Linked DNA regions of Homo sapiens: region 2 is linked to region 1. Evidence: promoter capture Hi-C in human tissues and cell types (Jung and others, 2019). All regions are on one chromosome and are shown on one strand. The core of a region is centred on a gene start or on the middle of the fragment in contact, and the rest is flanking DNA. Distances in the headings are between cores, read along the strand shown. Region 1 holds the start of MRPS15 (mitochondrial ribosomal protein S15). Region 2 overlaps THRAP3 (thyroid hormone receptor associated protein 3).

The links. Contacts are between HindIII fragments. The study calls those that stand out against the background at their distance.
Region 2: a contact is called between a fragment that was not itself captured here and the fragment with the promoter of MRPS15 in region 1, in 1 of the 25 tissues and cell types used here (spleen).

The regions. Positions count from the first base shown.
Region 1 is chr1:36,461,259-36,466,175 of GRCh38, forward strand. It overlaps MRPS15 (mitochondrial ribosomal protein S15), which reads right to left and starts at 3,126. Exons shown (of 8, transcript NM_031280.4): 1 at 2,888-3,126; 2 at 2,548-2,592; 3 at 830-905; 4 at 6-54. The coding sequence starts at 3,017. CSF3R (colony stimulating factor 3 receptor) reads right to left here. Exons shown (of 17, transcript NM_000760.4): 17 at 4,785-4,917. RefSeq lists enhancers at 2,134-3,037, 2,433-3,632, 3,032-3,281, 3,038-3,939. The HindIII fragment of the contact is 17,048 bases long and covers 240-4,917 here.
Region 2 is chr1:36,279,509-36,284,425 of GRCh38, forward strand. THRAP3 (thyroid hormone receptor associated protein 3) reads left to right here. Exons shown (of 12, transcript NM_005119.4): 3 at 3,025-3,192. The coding sequence starts at 3,056. Among named protein-coding and RNA genes, the nearest start is that of SH3D21, 24 kb to the right of the region's middle. The HindIII fragment of the contact is 3,063 bases long and covers 716-3,778 here.

The DNA of each region.
Region 1 (4,917 bases), core at 1,876-4,375:
CTCACCTTGTTGGCCATTTCCAAAGACAAGAGTCTTTTCACGACATCATCAACCCTGTGGATAAACCACAGCAATGAGACAGACATTGGGGGAGAAGAGAGGAAAGCAATGCTGGTTTCATTTTAGTTTGAAAAGCAAAGATGATTGAAAAATTCCTTCTGTAGCAAATGAATCTCCCTGGAGGTGGGGAGCCATTTCCCAGGGATTAAAAGTCAGTGTGGATCTGGCTTGCTGGGCTGAAACTACAGAAACTGGGGCTGTCAGCTCGACTGTTCCGGTCTCATCACAGGGAGGGCAAGGAGAGGATTTCCATTTTAGCTACAACATGGTTCAATCTGTTTTGAGACATTTCAAGTTAAATTGCACAGTGGGAGGGACTGACCAGCTCCCACCACACTGCATAGGAGCTGAGCAGAGGGCCTCTGGCTTTGGTGTCAGTCAGCCCTGGATTCAAACTCTAGCTCTGCCCTTTAGAACTGTATGACACTGGACAGCTTGAAAATCTATAAAATGGGGACATACAGCTTTTGTGAGGAACAAGAGATGAGAGATTTCTACAAAGACCTGTGAAGTATGTTAGCTCCTTGGAATCTAGTGGTACAGGGTGTTCATCTAGAGTACAAAAAAACCCCCAAGTAGCCGAGCTCCATGAGTGCCATCTGCCTTGCTGACCACCCACCCTCACCACACCTGGACACCTGGGCCCCTGCCTCCTTCTAGATCAAGCTTCAGCTACAGCAAGCCAAGTCTCAAAGCCACTGTCTTTCCCCACTCCCCGACAATCCTCCCAGGGCCCCCTGCCTCCTCTACTAGGTTTCTTCCTGCTTACTTCTCAATTCCAGGGACATTCTGGTAGTCTTTGAGCAGCGTAGAGGGAGGTGGGTCATCATCCAGCCTAGACTGGGCTGTCAAGTAAATATGGGGATAGAAAACACCCAGAGTCAACTCTCGCTGCCCACCCTCCCAGACCTGGCTCTTTTCACCCACTCTCCAACTCCAGAAGGGACATTCAGGGTCTCAAGCAAAGCACTGGATATCTCTCGGCTCAGTTTCTCCTTTGCAAACTCCGTGGGCACCTGCTTTGATATTTCATGTTGCGAGTAGGTGGCTTTTCCCAAGACCCTACACTGTGCCTGCACCTTTCACACACCTATCTGGCTCTACAGTTCTCAGATCCCCCACTAGGATGGGTCCTCCTGTGGATAGGACAGAGTTTGACTCCCTTGGAATCCACCATAGTCTGGCCCATGGCTCAGCCTAGACTAGGCACTCAACAAACACTTGCTGGCTGACTGCATGTATGAATTAAGGGGGTTGAGGAAAGGCAGCTAGCTGTACGATGCCTGAAATGTAAGCACCAAGTAGAGATCACAGGAAAACCTCAGTCTTGGTGTGTGCACCCCTGCTATCCCTTGGAGATGAGGAAGAGGCATAGAGTAGATGGACTTATCCTCTCCAGTCAGACCCTGCTATGCAAATAACATTAATGGGCCTCTTCTGTCTGTAACAGCTCAAGTTGATTCTGATAGGGAGGCAGAAAAGAATTATATTAAAAATATATTAATAGCAATAAATTCTACTTATTTTATTTTTTGTAGAGACTGGGTCTTGCTATGTTGCCCAGGCTGGTCTTGAACTCCTGGCCTCAAGTGATCCTCCAGCCTTGGCCTCCCAAAATGTTGGGGCCATGTCCAGCCAATAATTTCTTTCTTTTTTGTTTTTTTGAGATGGAGTCTCGCTCTGTCACCCAGGCTGGAGTGCAGTGGCACGATCGGCTCACTGCAACCTCCACCTCCCAGGTTCAAGCGATTCTCCTGCCTCAGCCTCCTGAGTAGCTGGGATTACAGGCGCGCGCTACCACACCTGGCTAATTTTTTTCTGTATTTTTAGTAGAGACGAGGTTTCACCATGTTGGCCAGGCTGGTCTCGAACTCCTGAACTCAAGTGATCTGCCCACCTTGGCCTCCCAAAGTGTTGGGATTACAGGCGTAAGCCACCGCGTCCGGCCCCAGATAATAAATTCTAATATATACTATCAATATATTTAATTGAGCACAGCGTTAAGGGTGCTTTTCGTGTATTATCGCTGAATCCTAACAATCCTTGCAAATGGATACTTTCACACTCATTTTAGAAATAAGAATCAGAGAGAGGAAGTACCTTGCCCCATATCATTTACCTAATAAGAAGGATCTTAACTACTATGCATACTGAGTTGCAATGGGAAATTACATCCTGCATCTCAGAAGCGCAGACACAAAGTGCCATACTCTAGGTAGGCCTGGGTGGTGCCAGCCATGCACTCCCTCTGGGAAGCTCATTTTCACTCATTCACCTGGAAAGCTCCTGCTCCCGCCCTTCACACCCCTCTGTCCCCATACAGGCTGCAGGCCTAGGGCTTTGTGTAAGGTGGACGTGGGGTCTTTTGCTCAGGACCTCTGGCTCACCTCATCTAGTGGCTCTAATTCGCCACATCGGTCCCCTTACCCACCCCAGCCTTCCAGGAGGTCTCTCTTCCGCCCCAAGTCCCACCTTAGGAACTCCTACCTGGTTTCCGGACGACATATCCGCGCGCGGCCTGGAGGAGGAGACCTACGCAGAAAAGAGAGGGCTGAGGACCATCTCCTTAAATAGCCCACCCCTCAGTTCCTTTCTGTGCCCCTCGCATTGCCCGTCCGCCACGGTCTATGCGCTTCTGAACCTAACCGCTGCCCCATTTCTTCCCTACCCCTTGTCTCTCACATCTTGTTTCACCTCTTGCGCAACCACCGCCCTTTCCCCCTTATCCTGACCGCTGTATATCTCCCCTACTCCTGTGCTTCCTTATTCCCTATCTTCGCCGAACCCTGTTTCCCTACGCCCGCCGTCCCATTTCTCAGCTCCTCACTTCGAGGCTGCAGGCCCCACTGGTTGAAAGGAAACTTGGCGCTCCCACCGCCCGGCAGCCCGGGTACTAGGACCTGGGTAACTGCCCGGGTCCGAATCAAACTCAGCGTCCTCCACGCGACCCTCAGCATGGTGACCTCTAACCCCCGCGGGGCCCGCGCCGCGGCCGCCGTTCGCTTTGCGGCACGGACCGGGTTACATGGGCGCCGCCATGCTGGCCCAGGATCGACCAATCGAGGCAGTTGCAATACCGGAGCAGACGAAGACCGAGAGAATGGATTAGGTGGCGTGACTCTGATGACGCAACGCACGGGGCGGAGCTCAGAGACCGGGTTCCCGCTGCGCGTGATCGGGCCGTGGTGGTTGTGTGCCCACGTTTAGCAGCGTGCTGGGGTGCTGTATAAATTCTAAAATGCCACTTTTTGGAGGGCATGCGTTCCGTCCTTAATCTCATTCCTGGCCCTCGGGCCAGGGTTATTTTGGGAGGTCCATGGCGCCTGCGGTAGCCTTCTACCCCCAACCCAATCCCCTCTCCACCCCACCTCACCCCTCCCTTAGACAAGGATGGGACCGTGTAAGAACTACTACTGGGTTTCAGCCATGTCTCTGGCAGCCTCGTAGCCTGGAGACTAAAGTCGCTGAGTTTGGAATCGCACAGTCCTGGTCTGGAATCCTAACTCAGCCATTTACTCAACATGTGATCTTGTGGGCAAGTCACTTAACCTATGTGGGCCCTGTAGGGATAGTAATAACAATATCTCTCTTTTAGGTTGTTGAGAGGATTAACTGAGTTGTATGCAGACCACCTGGTATATAGTGAGCATTTAGTAAATCTTTACGGTGACGTTATTTGTGAAATGAGTGGTGTAAGGGTGGATACAAATTAGAAGAAAAAGAAAATTTAATTTTCCCTGGCGCAAAAAGGGAAAAGACTCCTTCCCCTCACTTTTCTGAGAGCATTTACTTTAGAAAACTTGTAATTGTGAATACTTTCTCTACTGCTTTGCGATGAATGTAAATCTTCTTAAAAGGTAAATAAACCTCTTGCCAGTTTTACAACCCCGGAATGTTTTTCTCAAGGACCTGGGGGCCAACCCTTTGAAATGTAATAATTAAGGAAGATAGTGCTCTCTCTCAGTTCCTGTGGGAGGGTAGGAGCCTAACTTCAGTTGGTGCCTAGCTCTTAGTTGCAACCTACCCTTTGTTATAAAGATAGGGGAAATCGATTTTTCCTTTGGATAAAGGCAATTAGCAGACACAGGTGGCTTCCCACTTACCAGGTAAATTTAGAGTGAGGTGCAGCCAAGTCCTCTTGCTTGAGGACCAGTTATTGTTTATCTTGAGAAAATGGATACAGTAAGTTGTATTCACTTTGCTACATAAAAGAGTAAGATTTTTGTCTCTTTGCAGTCTCTTTAGTGGATCACCAGTGTATCACATTCCGGTTTAATGCTTATTCAATAATAACACTGTTTTCTTTCTTTTCTACCCTTGTGAAGAGGTTTTCTGCGTTGGCAGGGGATTTTGTCTTTAATTTTATTTCCCCAACAGGGGTTAGTTTTTCCAAAGTCTCTTCACCGTGTCCCACCGCACTGTCACTCCCCCCGTGTAACCCATGCCACTGTGCCCTAAGGATCAGTTTTCAAGTCTCCACCACTAGAATGCAGCTCTCTGAGGGTGAACTGAGCTGAGTCGTTTGCATAGGGCCTAGATACTGAGAGCTAGCAGAAGGAAGCAAGGGAAGGAAGGAGGGAAGGAAGGAAGGGAAAGGAAGGAAGGGAGGAAGGAAGGGGGGAAGGAAGGGAGGGAGGAAGGAAGGGAGGGAGGAAGAAAGGACCAACTCTGAGAAGTTTCCCCCTGACTGCTGGGCCCTGAAAAATAAATAACAGAGACTCAGGTACACCCAAGAGTGTCTATAAACAACAACAAAAACTGCAAACCAAAAACTAGTTTACAATACTGAAGTTATAGGAAACAAGCACAAAAGGCCATTGGGTGGGGCTGGATGGAGCATGATCTGGTCCTTAAAGT
Region 2 (4,917 bases), core at 997-3,496, 180 kb before region 1:
ACTCCTTTATTCTGACTTCATATAGTGACACTACTGCCAAAAATAGCTCCAAATTGAAATATCTTTGACCTTGCTAGAGCTTGCAACAGTGTGATCTTTTTGGCAGGATTAAAACCGTGGGTTCTTGGCATCCTCATCTAGCAGTCTTTTACTCATCACCTTTTGTCTCTGACTTCTTATTAGTTTCTCAGTTCTCCTCTAAATTATGTCTCTAAGATTTTGCTTGTTTCCCCTGTGAGATGGAGCTATAGCAGCTTCCTAGGCGTTTTTTGTCTTTTGGAAAGTTCTTGAAATTCAAGTATTTTATTTGAATATAACAAAAATAAATACTACCTTTCAGTTTATCTATATCTTGTCACCTTTATCAGATTGTAAACTTGGTAAGGGTGGACACTTGGCATTCATTGGTTCCATAAGTTCGTTAGTACCCCTTGTATGCCAGACACTGCTCTAGACAGGCAATATAACATAGTGGTTAAATGTGCCAACGGTGAGGCTGGGCGGGGTGGCTCACGCATGTAATCCTAGCACTTTGGGAGGCCAGGGCAGGAGGATCCATTGATCTTAGAAGTTTGAGACCAGCCTGGGCAACACAGGGAGACCCCATCTGAATGAATTAATGAATGAGCAAGTCGATCGTGGTTTGGATTTTGGCAGTATGACCTTGGGCAAGTTAATTACTTTCTCTATGCCTCAAAATTCTTATCTGTAAAACGGGATTAAAAATGCCCTCCTCAAGGATAAAATGAATTAATAAAAACACTGGTTAAGCATTTGCTATTCTGGGCGTTGGGTATACAGCACTAAATAAAGAAAGATGAGGTTTCTGTTGTTATAGAGCTTACATTCTAATTAAAGACAGAATAACAAGTAAACAAGATAGTTTCACATACTGAGTTTTGCTCTGAAGAAACAAATAAGATACATACTGGACCTAGAGAATGACTGGTGGCTATTTTTGACTGGGTGGTCAGGGTGAACCTCTGAGGAGATAGCTTTTGAGCTGAGATCTTCAAATTCTGAGGGGTAGGAGGGGAGAAATATTTGATTATTATTTTCCCTTCACAGACAAGAGGCAGCATTACTTGGCAGAATCTCGCTAGGCAGCAAAGTGTGATAGAATAGGCCCTGGAGTTTGGGCCTGGTTTGGCTATTAATTAGCTTTGTGATCTTTGATAGATTCCTTACTCTTACTGTCTTTGATAGACATGTACTTTAGCACTTAAAGTTTTTACTGCTGGGAAGATGTCCAAGGCGCTAATAGAGTATAAAGGAGAGAAGTATACCTTGTAGACCAGGCGTTAACCTCTCAGGGCAACTTAGAGGCGCTCTTCTTTCCTGGAGGGGGAAAAAAGGAAAAAGACTATTTGTTTCTTGGTGGGAAAATGACCCTGAAAGAAAGTTGACTCTTTATTTTTATTTATTTTTTTTTTTGAGACGGAGTTTTGCTCTTGTCGTCCAGGCTGGAGTGCAATGGCGCGATCTTGGCTCGCTGTAACCTCTGCCTCCTGGGTTCGAGAGATTCTCCTGTCTCAGCTTCCTGAGTAGCTGGGATTACAGGCACCCGCCACTACTTTTAGTAGAGATGGGGTTTCACCATGTTGGCCACGCTGGTCTTGAACTCCTGATCTCAGGTGATCAGCCCACCTCAGCCTCCCAAAGTGCTGGGATTACAGGCGTGAGCCACCGCCCCCAGCTGACTCTTTTGTAATAAAGAGCTGGAACAAATTGATGGTTCTTTATGACTAGATGTGCCACATACTCTGTAACTAAGTTAAATTGCATGCGGTTTCTTCTCTTGGAACTAGGAAACCTGTCTCACATCTCCTCATTACTTTTATTAACAGCTGACTTTAGTCTCAAAGCTTCTTTGCTTACTGAGAAAAGACTGCATGCACCAAAATTAATAAGCACCCTCATTCTTGGTCATCTCTTACAGTATTACCCAGTTAGGGTTACATGTCAGGTTTTCCATTTGCTGCTGTGGCTTGGTCTGTTTGGGATTTGTACTACTAAGAAATTCCTTTTGATGAAAGAGCAGAGTGGTTTTTAAAAATCAGTCATTTCATCTTTTTTTTTTTTTTAATGTTACTTTCTGTTTTTAAAGTTTATTTTATTTAAACAGTTGTTTTTTTTGTAGAGGTGGGGGAATCTTCCTATGTTGCTTAGGCTGGTCTCAAAATCCTGGCCTCAGGCCATTCCCACCTTAGCCTCTGGAGTAGCTAGGACTACAGGCCCTTACCACTACATCCAGCTAATTTTAAAAGTTTTTACTTTGTAGGCCAGGCACGGTGGCTCACGCCTGTAATCCCAGCACTTTGGGAGGCCGAGCCGGGCAGATTACCTGAGGTCGGGAGTTCGAGACCAGCCTTACCAACAAGGAGAAACCCTGTCTCTACTAAAAATACAAAAAAATTAGCCGGGCATGGTGGCCCATGCTTGTAATCCCAGCTACTTGGGAGGCTGAGGCAGGAGAATTGCTTGAACCCGGGAGGCGGAGGTTGTGGTGAGCTGAGATTAAGCCATTGCACTCTAGCCTGGGCAACAAAAGCAAAACTCCTATCTCAAGAAAAAAAAAATTTTTTTTTTAACTTTGTAGACACGGGATATTGCTATGTTGCCCAGGCTAGTCTTGAACACCTGGACTTAAGCAGTCCTCCTCCTACCTTGGCCTCCCAGTGCACTGGGATTACAGGCGTGAGCCACCGTGCTCAGCCACTTTCTCTCTTTTTTTTTTTTTTGGAGATAGGGTATTGCTCTTTCCTCCAGAGCTGCAGTGCAGAGGTGTGATCACAGCTCACTGTAACTTTGCACTCCCTCCTGTCTTAGCCTCTCAAATAGCTAGGACTACAGGAACGCACCACTGTGACTGGCTAATTAAAAAAAAATTTTTTTTTTTTTTTTGTAGATATGGGGTCTTCTCAAGTTGCCCAGATTAAAAGAAATGTGTTTCTAAAATGTCCAAAGAGGTTCACATTTGCAAAGGAACTCACTCATTTGTTCTAATGCATTTTCTTACATTAGGTGTAATTGAAAAGTGATCCTCTCTTCAGAGATGTCAAAAACAAACAAATCCAAGTCTGGATCTCGCTCTTCTCGCTCAAGATCTGCATCAAGATCTCGTTCTCGTTCATTTTCGAAGTCTCGGTCCCGAAGCCGATCTCTCTCTCGTTCAAGGAAGCGCAGGCTGAGGTAAGGGGGTGTGACTTTGTATATTGAGATAATCATTGCATCAGTCGATGTGGATGTTTGAAGATCTTTTGTTAGACTTTTCCTGTGAGTGTCAAATGGACTGGGGGGTTGGCTTGAGGTGCAGGGTTGGGCTATAAGATATTCCAGGTCTCTTTAAACTACAAATCCAGATCAGCTTTGACTGCCATGCTGATTGCCTGATTCCTTTCCTCTGCCAGCACATAGTATTTCCCACCCACTTTGGAAGAAAGAACATTTTATTTTTATTTGAGCTGCTTGCTTCAAATCTCTATAGCTGATTATTTTTCACCAAATTATTTTTGAAGGCTTGAACCAAAGTTTATGTGCATCACTGCAAAGAAAGGATAGCTAAGAGGATTAATAATATGAACAACATGGCAAGGAAAAGAAGCTTCAACTCACTAAAATAAACTTACAGAAACTTATCAGGAGTAATTTGTATACAATGTGCCAATTACTAACAAGCTGCATCTGTTTAGTAAATGTATCTTAAAACTTTTTAAAAATCGCTATTGAAAACATCACTTTATCTTACTGAATATGAGCACAGTTCTTTTGAATTTATTGCCAGTATTTCCTAATTCAGTCAGTTTTCACACCTTCAGGTGGATTTCCCTATTTTAATTATGTCTTGGAATAGGATGCCAAACCTCCAGCGTCTTTCCTCTCTTGGTGTGTTGTGAGTTGGATTTTTCATTCTTTAAAAGTGTTTAAACTTTCTTTTGTGGATAGATAAGAAGCTTTCAGTAAATAACAAGTTTCTATATGTGAGTTTGGGAAATATTGGTGTATTTAAATTGGTGTGCTGAAGAGGAATCTTTGTACATTTTCATTCTTTTTCCCACAAGTACATTAGCAAGGAGATGATTTGTCATGTTTGACACTTGGAACCCCTGCTGTTTATTTCAGATGAGTATCTAGAATCCTTGTCTTAGATGAATTGATTAGCTGTTTATTTCAGATGAGTATCTAGAATCCTTGTCTTAGATGAATTGATTACGACATTTAAAATAAACCTCAGAAGTCAGTGATTAAACTTTTACTCTTGATGATTTCCAGAGCCCTATAGTACTTCTAAGGGGTCTATTAAACAAAGGATTAGTAGTTTTGTTTTTTTACCATTTAACAAAAACAAGGTAGATATTAAATGGAGTCTATGAGAAGCCAGCCTGAAAAAGCAGGTATGCATAAATATTGAAAAGGGAAACCCTAAATTTATTTACCTCAGGAAATTGCTTTTAAAGCCATGGGACCAGCAAGACTCTTAGTAACTCCTACCCTGTACCCAGAATCTTGATTTAGGGAGTTTAAACCTCAGTTTTAGCTCATTTGGTTATGAAAGATACCTTTTTAAAATTTAATCTAGTAACTAGAAGAAACTAAATAATTGGTTCAACACCAAGAGGCTATGCAACCAAAACTGAGAGACAAAATTGAATTGAAAAATGTTAACCAACTCTGAAGTATTTATGACAGCTGGAATTCCGGGCAGTTCTTTTCTCCTTGTTCTGCAAATCATTTGGCACTTGCTCACTGACTTGGCAAATGAGGAAAAAATATTTTAGGAAGGCAGTATGTGCTGGGGTAGGTCTAGAGACACTTTACATGCTATCATATACCTAGAAGAGACTTTTCTGGAGGAATTTCTCCACTAGAAAGTATGCTTTTATAATTGATTGTAATCTGACTTCTCTGTTTTTAGAA